Linked DNA regions of Homo sapiens: regions 1 and 2 are each linked to region 3. Evidence: promoter capture Hi-C in human tissues and cell types (Jung and others, 2019). All regions are on one chromosome and are shown on one strand. The core of a region is centred on a gene start or on the middle of the fragment in contact, and the rest is flanking DNA. Distances in the headings are between cores, read along the strand shown.

Evidence for each region. The method cuts DNA at HindIII sites, captures the fragments that hold promoters and counts their contacts. A contact is called where the count stands out against the background at its distance.
Region 1: a contact is called between a fragment that was not itself captured here and the fragment with the promoter of APOBEC4 in region 3, in 1 of the 25 tissues and cell types used here (mesenchymal stem cells).
Region 2: a contact is called between a fragment that was not itself captured here and the fragment with the promoter of APOBEC4 in region 3, in 3 of the 25 tissues and cell types used here (dorsolateral prefrontal cortex, hippocampus and mesenchymal stem cells).

Annotation. Positions count from the first base shown.
Region 1 is chr1:183,807,374-183,810,414 of GRCh38, reverse strand. All of the region lies in intron 2 of RGL1 (ral guanine nucleotide dissociation stimulator like 1), which reads right to left. Among named protein-coding and RNA genes, the nearest start is that of RGL1, 3.8 kb to the right of the region's middle. RefSeq lists an enhancer at 2,823-2,872. The HindIII fragment of the contact is 5,243 bases long and covers 1-3,041 here.
Region 2 is chr1:183,836,238-183,839,486 of GRCh38, reverse strand. The region is part of intron 2 of RGL1 (ral guanine nucleotide dissociation stimulator like 1); the gene reads right to left. Among named protein-coding and RNA genes, the nearest start is that of RGL1, 33 kb to the right of the region's middle. The HindIII fragment of the contact is 5,221 bases long and covers 1-3,249 here.
Region 3 is chr1:183,651,358-183,654,739 of GRCh38, reverse strand. It overlaps APOBEC4 (apolipoprotein B mRNA editing enzyme catalytic polypeptide like 4), which reads left to right and starts at 1,424. Exons shown (of 2, transcript NM_203454.3): 1 at 1,424-1,668. It also overlaps a transcript of RGL1 not described here. The HindIII fragment of the contact is 3,396 bases long and covers 1-3,328 here.

The sequences.
Region 1 (3,041 bases), core at 275-2,774, 160 kb before region 3:
CCACCACAAGGACTGCATGACCACAGAAGTACAGGACTAAGAAGAGCCACGTGACTAACCACTGATCATTCCACTGCCCACAAATTTTGCAGAAGTGACCTAGCACTCACAATCTTGCTTGTAAAAAAAATATCCTCACTTGGAACTTATCTTAGGCTGACATGTTTTTTGGACCCTGAGTCTGTCATATTCTGAAGACAACAGCATGAACTTCTGACACCAAAGCCCTTCCCAAACAGTTGAATTCTTTTCCTCTGTCCCTTTGAGTATTCATCCTGAAATGTTACACTTCCTGCTTCCAGAGGATACTGATATTTTCTTAACTCTTTTCTATATTATTCACTGTCCATATACAACCACAACACTGGGACCAAAGACAAATAACAAGTTTTGACACTTTGCTCTTCCAAAAATCACAAGATAAGTGAATGTCTGGGTGAAATTACTTCTTTTTTTAAGAGACAGAGTCTCACTCTCTCACTCAGGCTAGAGTGCAGTGGTGCAATCATGGCTCGCTACAGCCTTGACCACCCTGGCTCACGCGATCCTCCCACCTCAGCCTCCCAAGTAGCTGGGACTACAGGCACACACCACCACACTCAGCTAATTTTTTAATTTTATTTTTATTTTTAGTAGAGACAGGGTCTTGCTATGTTGCCCAGGCTGGTCTTGAGCTCCCAGCCTCAAGCAAATTAGCCTGCCTTGGCCTCTCAAAGTGCTGGGATTACAAGAATGAGCCACTGTGCTAGGCTCGGAATTGCTCTTTAATGTCTCTTCCAATCCTAAGATTTTTTAAATTTTGTGACATAATTGAAGTCATTTTTCTTCGAGAATTATAGGTGGGTAAAATTATCCCAGCCAAAGATGTTATTGTAAAGGGAAAATGGGTCAGTATTTCAATAATATTTGGTTTTTCAAAGTTGCCAATATAATCTCACCGTCAATGGGCAAGGATGCAGCTGCACGTACAAGTAAACTGGGCCTGGGACATACTTGGTTGTAGTTTTCCAAACACAGAGTTTTACTTTAAAAGATCAACTGAACACAGAATTTAACAGACAAAATAAAAAAGAATGACCTAAATGTTTTGGACTGTATAATACTTCACATCTGAGGATATGTAATTATTTTGCTCTCCTCCCCAAAATTGAATCTTAATTATGTTTTGAGATCTGAATACTAGAAAATACAAAAATTATGTTCCATCTTTTAGGCATCTGGAATAAGCATTACAGACACGTAACAAAGCTATGCCTATCCTCACATGCTACATAACCTCATACGTATCTTCATATCTTCAATGCACCCTGCTTTAAACCTCCAAAATGGGGAGTTTATCAGTGAGATCATAGCTTCGCAACAAATATCTCAATTTGCAGCTCAAGTTATCATTCTAGACATGAAGAAAAGAAAGTTACATCTCTCCAGTCTTGCAACATTAGGGAAAAGCACACCCAAAGCATCCTCAGTCTTTTGAGCCAATGTTCTTTTCTACTACTATGGAAACAGCCTTAAGGTCCCAGGAAATTCTTCACAACAAAGAGCCAACCATCTGGATTTGAATCTGGTGTTTACCACTTCATAGCTGTGTGACCCTGGCAAACAATTTAACCTCTCTGGGCATTAGTCTCCTCATGTTAAAAAAAAAAAAAAGAGAGAGAGAGAGATCATCACAACACCACCTTCCTCAGAAGGTTGTTGTCATATTGCAATAATTTCCTCACCTGACCCCACTCTCTAGTAACTCTGAAACTAGTTACTTTGAAGAATTTTGAAAGGGTACTGGAATACAGGAAAACAAACATGGGGAAGCCACTCAGTTCTAAAGAGAAAGGTTTGTAATTGCTATGGCTCAATGGGTTGAGTCACATTTAATTAAGTCTGGAATTTTCAAGGACAAAAACAGAACTTCCCAACAGGACACCTAAGACAAGAAAACACGTAGATTAGAGCTGGAGAGCCCCTAGGAACTTGCAATAAAGGAGTAGGCTGGTAGCAGTAAATCACACTTTGTTGAAATGGGGGCGAGGGGGACAGATTCCTCCATCAACTAGAGCCAATCTTTTCACATTATCCTCCTTCTCAGTATTTCATATCTACTGTTGAATCCAGGGTGAATTAACTCTGAACTCTGTATAAATTTGAGAACACTGAGAGAAGGGAGAGAGAAGAAAAGAAGTGAAGTCTAGTGAAGAGAACAGTCAGTGGGGATTACTAAATAACTCTGAGCATCTAAATACATGACAGTTTGTAGATGTGGGGCCTACAGAGTGAACCCCTCCATTTCCAATGACTTACTCATAACTAATGTTGTATATGGCTGAAAACTAAAACAGTCACCCAAGCAAAGTCAGTCTCATTAGAAAGAGAGGAATAACCTGATACCAAAAAAATGTAATGACCCTTTTGAAGACAACTGGTTCAGAAGTTGTGAATCATTCTGAAATAGCTAGAGGCCAAACCACATGGACGCCACATTTAAATAAAATACATACACACAACCACCAAAAACAAAGTGATGACTTGTCAGAACTCTAGTTCTGCTTTCCCTATCAGGTCTGCTAGTGATATACATAATTAATTTTAAAATCATATTCTGAGTAAGGTAGGTACTTGGTAAGTGAAGACCTCTAGTTCTCACTGGAAAGCTCCTATCTTTCCAGACCACACCTGCAGATGTCATTAACAATTTCTGGCCCTCATGGGTGATACCTTGGCCCAAAGTACAGTAGCAGGAAAGGCCTGAGCTGAAGCAGCTGGGGAAGCCCAAAGCAATGAATGCCTGTGTCAGCAGACTCATGGCAGAGGAAGTGATTGCTGCCGGCCATGGGCCACCATCCTGCCTTAAACTCCCTGGAGTTACAAGTCACACGTTACCACTACTCTTAACAGGAGGCCCTGTGCAATTTTGTGTCCTATCCTCCTTCACACTCCACCTTTGAATGCTGCTCAAAATATTCTGAATTTTCAGAGACTCCAAGCCGCTAAAGATGGGATGCAAGTGCATAAATCTTCAACACTCTGAAGCCCATCGGCTAAAA
Region 2 (3,249 bases), core at 372-2,871, 180 kb before region 3:
TACCCTCCCATCAAATAATCAAAAAGAAGATCATCAAGACTTCTGATCAATTGGATGTAGAGAATAAAATGAAGGAAAATAAAGAATCTGGAAACTTCACCTGATTTCTAGTGTGGATGGCTGGAAAGGTAATGGTGTCACCTATAAGAAAGAAAATTGAGGGGAGGAAGTCAGATTTTGGTGGGTTAGGTACTGAATTACATGCCAATGGTAAGTCCAACAGGCAGTTAGAATCTAAAAGTTGGGAGAAGGGTCTAAGATGGAAATATGTAGAAATTACATCAATTAAAATAGGAAGAGTAGTAGGCTAAGGATGGTATCTGGATGAGTACCAAAATTAAGCTGGTTCCAAGAGTAAAGATGGGCAGCACCAGAAGAGGCACTTGCACATGTGGCAAATTCATACATCGTCTGATCTATGATGGCATTTCTGGGCAGAGAAACCAGAAGAAATCTTCACCACCAGATTCACATATGTGCTGACATATGTACCTTCCCTCTAATTATACAAACATATCAAGGCTTAGACAGCGGTATGCTGGAGCCAGCTTGAACCTCTTGCACGAGCCAAATGTGCACACTCCTCACCTCTGCATTCAGTGGCATCATGTTGGTAGTGTGAGTTCAGACATGGTGACACTATTTACGCCATGAAAATTAGCAATGCTACAAATTAGGGTTTTTATTTTGGAGGGCCAGTTTATCAGCATACCCCTGCCCAGAAGTCCCTCTCAGATTGTGTCAGTGTCAAGAGACACCTTCACACTGGCTGAGACATTTTCTTTCTGTGTACGTTCCAGTTAAGGTATTTGTGTTGTCACCATGATCTTTATCTGATAGAAGAAGGGAATTACACCTCTGAACTATGAAGAAAGTAGAAATGTGGAGGCAGGAGAGGCAGAAGGGCATGTGTATGACAAACCAATGTGCTCTGAAAAAACTACACGAGCCCCAAGAGTTGACCTTGCTTGAAGCCACTTGTTAGAATGAAGCCACGTGGTCAGGCTTCTATGATGAATATCCTTCATCCTCAGGAAGATGTAAAGGGAGCTGTAATAACAAACAATAGCTAGTGTTTTATCACACAGAAATCCCATCCCCCTTTGCCATCCTGTCTCAGTAGGGTTTCCTAGATAGAGTCCAGGAACCCTCCTGAAGGAAACAGGAAGCTGTGTTTCTCATCTCCTGAAAAAGAGTAGTACTCCTGGAGTCTTGGTCCAACATTAATCCATAACAGATTCTATCTTCTCTAACACAAATCTCCATTTCTGACATTCTGGTCATCCTTTAAGGATTCCAAAGTTTCCCAGAAAGCAAATTTAAATATTAAGTGGATTTTAAGAAGTTTGCCGACCACATTTTTCAAATAAAATAATTTCACTTTCATCTGATACTTTTCTGCTTGAAACTCAGAATGCCAATAACTAAAGCAAGGGTCTCCAACCCCTGCACCATGGACCAGTAGCAGTCTATGGCCTGTTAGGAACCGGGCCTCACAGCAGCAGGTGAGTGGCAGGTGAGCCAGCATTACTGCCTGAGCTCCACCTCCTGTCAGATCAGCGGCGACATTAGATTCTCATAGGAGCGCCAAGCCTATTGTGAACTGCACATGCGAGGGACCTAGGTTGTACACTTCTTATGGGAATCTAACTAATGCCTGATGATCTGAGGTGAAACAGTTTCATCCTGAAACGAACACCCCTCAACCCCCGTTCATGGAAAAACTGTCTTCCACAAAACCAGTCCCTGGTGCCAAAAGGTTGGGGACTGCTGAACTAAGGCGTTATGAATTAACAGGTTGCATTTCCATTTGGAGCCAATTTACTGTCGGACCTAGGGCAAAAACTTAGTTTCAATGACTTCGTTACCTACTTTATAAAAGGAATACATCAATGCAATTTTGAGAAGTTCAAGGATTTAAGAGTTGCACGGAGGGAGAGGAGTTTGAATTAAAATAGTCACTGTTGCATTTGCCAAATAAGATCACAAATTGTCACATACAAATTAGTATCCAGAGTGAACTTCCAAAATTCATAGCTCCCTCCTTTTTCTCTCATTCAGAGCCTCAAATGTCCAAGGTCTTCATAAACTAAGGTCACAGGTTAACAGGTGCCCTGGCTTGCTTGAGTCCATTCTGTTTTTGTGCAGCCCAACCAATCTCTGTCTGTAAAGGTCAGCAGGGGGTAGTGAGCTTCTGTGTGACCTAATATTCTCTGTGAATGAAGCCTGCTATGAATGGAGAGGCTTCCCCACAGCCCAGAAGCTTTCCCAGCATGCCATAAATCCCACAGACAGCTCCATGGGGCTTTATCTCCTTGTGAGATTTATAAGTGCTCCTTCACCAATCCTCCAGGGAGAGTACGGGGAAGGGTAGCAACTAACTGATGTTTCCAAACTTTAAAGTCAAGTCATTAATTTTTGATTCTTACTCCGTATACCACATTAAGGAATCTTCTGCACTTTCCCTACCTAGGCGATTCCTATGGGAACATTTAGTTCCCACTGTTATGATTACCTATTATTGTAATGTTAAAAACCAAAGCCCCATTATCCAAAATGACAATAAAATTATTACTCCCCTGGATCTCGGAATTCAAGTAATAATGACGTTGTTTAGTTTGATCCCTTCCCCTCCAAAATGAAATATTTAAAGTCTATGTGGACTTATAAATTCAGATGTAAGATGTAGCTTTATGACTCACAAACCTCTGGGCTGCAGTGTCTCTGGCAAGTATTCTATCCCTCAGCACTGTTTTTGGCACGTATAATATTCCTAGATCATGGGCTTGCTAGAATTGGCTACTGATAAACCCACCAGGTGTCTTTCAAGCATGTTATTAGGTGATCAAACCTAGGGCAAAGTTCTATGAAAAACAGTTGCGTGTATCCTGAGTATACCTCTTTGAAACATACACTGAAGGCTGGGCGCAGTGGCTCACGCCTGTATTCCCGCACTTTGGAAGGCCTAGGTGGGTGGATCACCTGAGGTCAGGAGTTCGAGATCATCCTGGCCAACATGGAGAAACCCCATCTCTACTAAAAATACAAAAAAATACAAAAAAAAAAAAATTAGCTGGGTGTGATGGCGGGTGCCTGTAATCCCAGCTACTCGGGAAGCTGAGGCAGGAGACTCGCTTGAACCCAAGAGGCGGAGGTAGCAGTGACCTGAGATCGCGCCATTGCACTCCAACCTGGGCAACAAGAGCAAAACTCCGTCTAAAAAAAAAAGAAAAGAAAAGATACACTAAA
Region 3 (3,382 bases), core at 175-2,674:
CTTTAGGCTTAACCTTCCATAGGTATATCATTTGCTGAGCATCTAATCCACCATGGAAGGTGCACAGTGCACATGGGATGCTGGTGCAGATTTGGGGACTATATTTTTTGTCTTTTCCTCCCCTCACTGGAACCTGTCAGACAGCTAATACTTTCTTACAGAACTGAGCAGGCCCTCAGAACTTGATTCTTCAGCTAGCGGGAGAAAAACCCCAACATGTTCTCTTCAACAGTCAGCTATTATCCTTTCACCCAGCTTTTGATAAGTAATATTTTTAAAGTAATGTTTGCAATAGATTGTCATTTATTAGGATTAAATAAAAGATGAGCTATGAGGATTGACTTTCAGTTCCATATTTACAAGTTCATTCAGTTAGAAGATGCAAGCAATGAGAAAAAAGGGATGACCCATGGCAAACTGTGGGGAAGGGACAGGATGCAGCAGTGACCATGTGCCAGAGCAAGCACCAAGGAAGATGAAACTGAAAATAACCAGCTGAGGAGTTCATGAATACACCTGAGGCCCTTAGGAGACAAAAACATCTCGTCTAGTAGGAGCACTCTGGATGAGAAAGGATGTGTGCTGTGGTGCAGACTGGAAGTCTGACAGTGGAAACAGGCGTGGCGAAGCTTCGAGAAGACAGAAGGTGCCCTCTGGGTGCTCAGTATCCCTGAGTTATTTTTAGAGTATGTCTGCTTACAGCCAATAGTTATTACTGGAATGTACACAATAGCAATCCCCACTCACTCCTTCAGGTGGCCTGGGAAAGGGGAATGAGGGAATAATCCAGAGTGATTGACAGTGAATTGTGACTATCAATGTGCCTTGTGTCTAGGAGATGATGTGGGGGTCAAGGGAGACTAAGGAAAAGAATGGAGAAGGACAAGTGGCTCTTCCGTTAGCCACAGAGAAGGGGCTACAACCGATCCTGGAACAAATCTTGTCTTAAACTGGAGGGAACCACATACATACCAATAGCAAGAGTCTTCCAGGCAATTTCTAAGAGGAGGGAAACCGCTAACACATAGCCTAGGTTTAGACAGAATCAAAAACACCCCCTTCAGGGACTATGGGCCTCTTGGAGGAAGTCAACTCTCTGCTCCCTCTCACAGAGGGCAAGCCTCCCAAGGAGAAGCCCTGGCACCCACGCAGGCAACAGAACCGCCAGGCCTGGCACCTACTCTAGACCAGGAGAAAGGTGCTGAGGAGCAGGCCCTCAGAACTTGATTCTTCAGCTAGCAGGAGAAAAACTGCAACATGTTCTCTTCAACAGTCAGCTATTATCCTTTTACCCAGACTGGGATATGCAGTCCTGTATATTTTCATCTTTGGAACAGGTGGCTTGATATGCAAATAAAGTAATAAGTGTCAGAGCTGTATCCTAGCAGTAGCTACTTTGCAAACGTTACCATGGCACCCAATCAACAGTGTTCTTAGAGGTAGCCACACCTCAGCAAGGGCTTTCTAACTTGGAACAGCAAAGTTCAAATGAACGAATAGACACAAACTGTGAAAGAGTCCTGAACCCATTACAAGGTGAATCTTTACAGCACAATTGCCTTCTGAAGCTACTTGAAACAGGGCATGGGACTTAAAGGAGAAAAAAAAGGAAATGGACCATCTCTTCTAACACCTGGAATGTGATCCAAGCCTGGAGACAAATTGATGGTAATTATAACTGCTAACATTTGTTTTTAGCTGCTAACAGATTGTGCACAGATTGTGAAGGGCAAACTCCATTCTCCAATTACTCCAGTGCAAACTGTGCTTTAACAGTACTCACTAAATCCTAGTTGAGTGAAATGAGAGCAGATTGTCCTTATGGTGTGGTTCATTTATGTTAAACTATGGAAAGCTGTCCTCCCACGGTCCCAGTCCAGGGGCCACTCACAGCCAGATGCAGAGAGCCCTCCAGCACGCTGGGCTCTACACATCTCTGTTCTTACTGCCAGCAAATCTGCTCTACAGAGTATAACATGTATTTCCCAAGCACAGACAAAGCAAAAGGAAAAGGGCTAGGCAGGAAGTAGGGACACCAGCTGCTGGGGAAACAAGTCTTAAGCAACCTGGCTTGTGAGCCAATCAAGGTTGCTAAGGTAGGTCCTGGGCCTAAACAGGGTACATTTCCACCTGGTTGGGGAGAATAAAATGACAGATACCAAAAGTTAACAAGATAATCTGTGGTCGATAACAAATTGATACAATAAACCATGAATTCTCTAAGAGTTCAAAGAGGGCAACAGTTCTTTCCTGCTTCCTCTTCAGATGAGGGTGATCAAAGAACAAGCCCAGAAAGACTCTGAAAAAGTGAAAACTTCACCAATAGGAAACTATAGTTGGTTGACACTGAAAAGTTGTCAGCAAGAATGAGACTACAGAGCTCCCTCCACTATGTGTTAAAGCCACAGTCCTCTCCATCTCCTTAAAGACAGTAATGATGTATCATTTCTGGCTAAAACAGCCACAGAAGATGGGGGTGCAAAGGAAGGCGTGCTTAGAAAAGCAATAGGGAGTTTCCATTTTGCTACCTTTATCTAAAAACACACAAAGACTTTTGTTTCCCAAAAGGGTAATTATGGGACCATTATATATAGTTAACTCCACATACACATCACCTTAAGAAATAGTAATAAAGACAGAAAAGTGCCTTTTGGTTCTGTTTCCATAACATTTAGCCAAATCAATCTGTAAATTGTCTATGGGTGAGTTGAAATTGTAATCTGAGCAGTAACCTGGATGTCCGGTGTACCACCCATAAGTCGACCACATCAAGGGCACAATATTAAAAAGCATGAAAGTTTGGGCTTGGTTTTGGCAAGTTCTGATGGAGAGATCCATCCAGCCTGATGAAGGCTAAGCAAGGAGGAGGTCCAGAGAGGAAACAATGCTCGGGAGTAAGCAGGAAATGGCGTCAGGTTCCAAGAGATCGTCCACTGCCAAGGGTTAAATCCAGCTCTCTAGAAGGAAAGCTATGACAAGGTCTAGGAAGCCTCAAGGCAGGAATTCAGTTACATCAGGAAAATATAGTACTAAGGAAAAAACAAAGCTAATGTCCAATCCTATGGATTAAGATGACACAGCAGAGGCTAGGAGAAATCTAGAATCTGGTGGGTATGTGGTGCCAGAGTTACTGCAGGATATTAGCCACTAAGATAATGGTGACATGAATAAAGCTACATTCCACCTACAGCTGGATTGAGGCTTTTAACATATTTTCTGCCCAGGATAGGATTAGCATAGGAACTCTGCAGGTTTCAGGCTAGAGATCAAGCTGTATCAAATACAGCAATGAATGAGCTGATGTGGGCTGAGGAAGACAGAAGGTGAACATAGCACTTCCATATGAGAGGCCATAATTTATTTATTAGCACAAGTATTCATA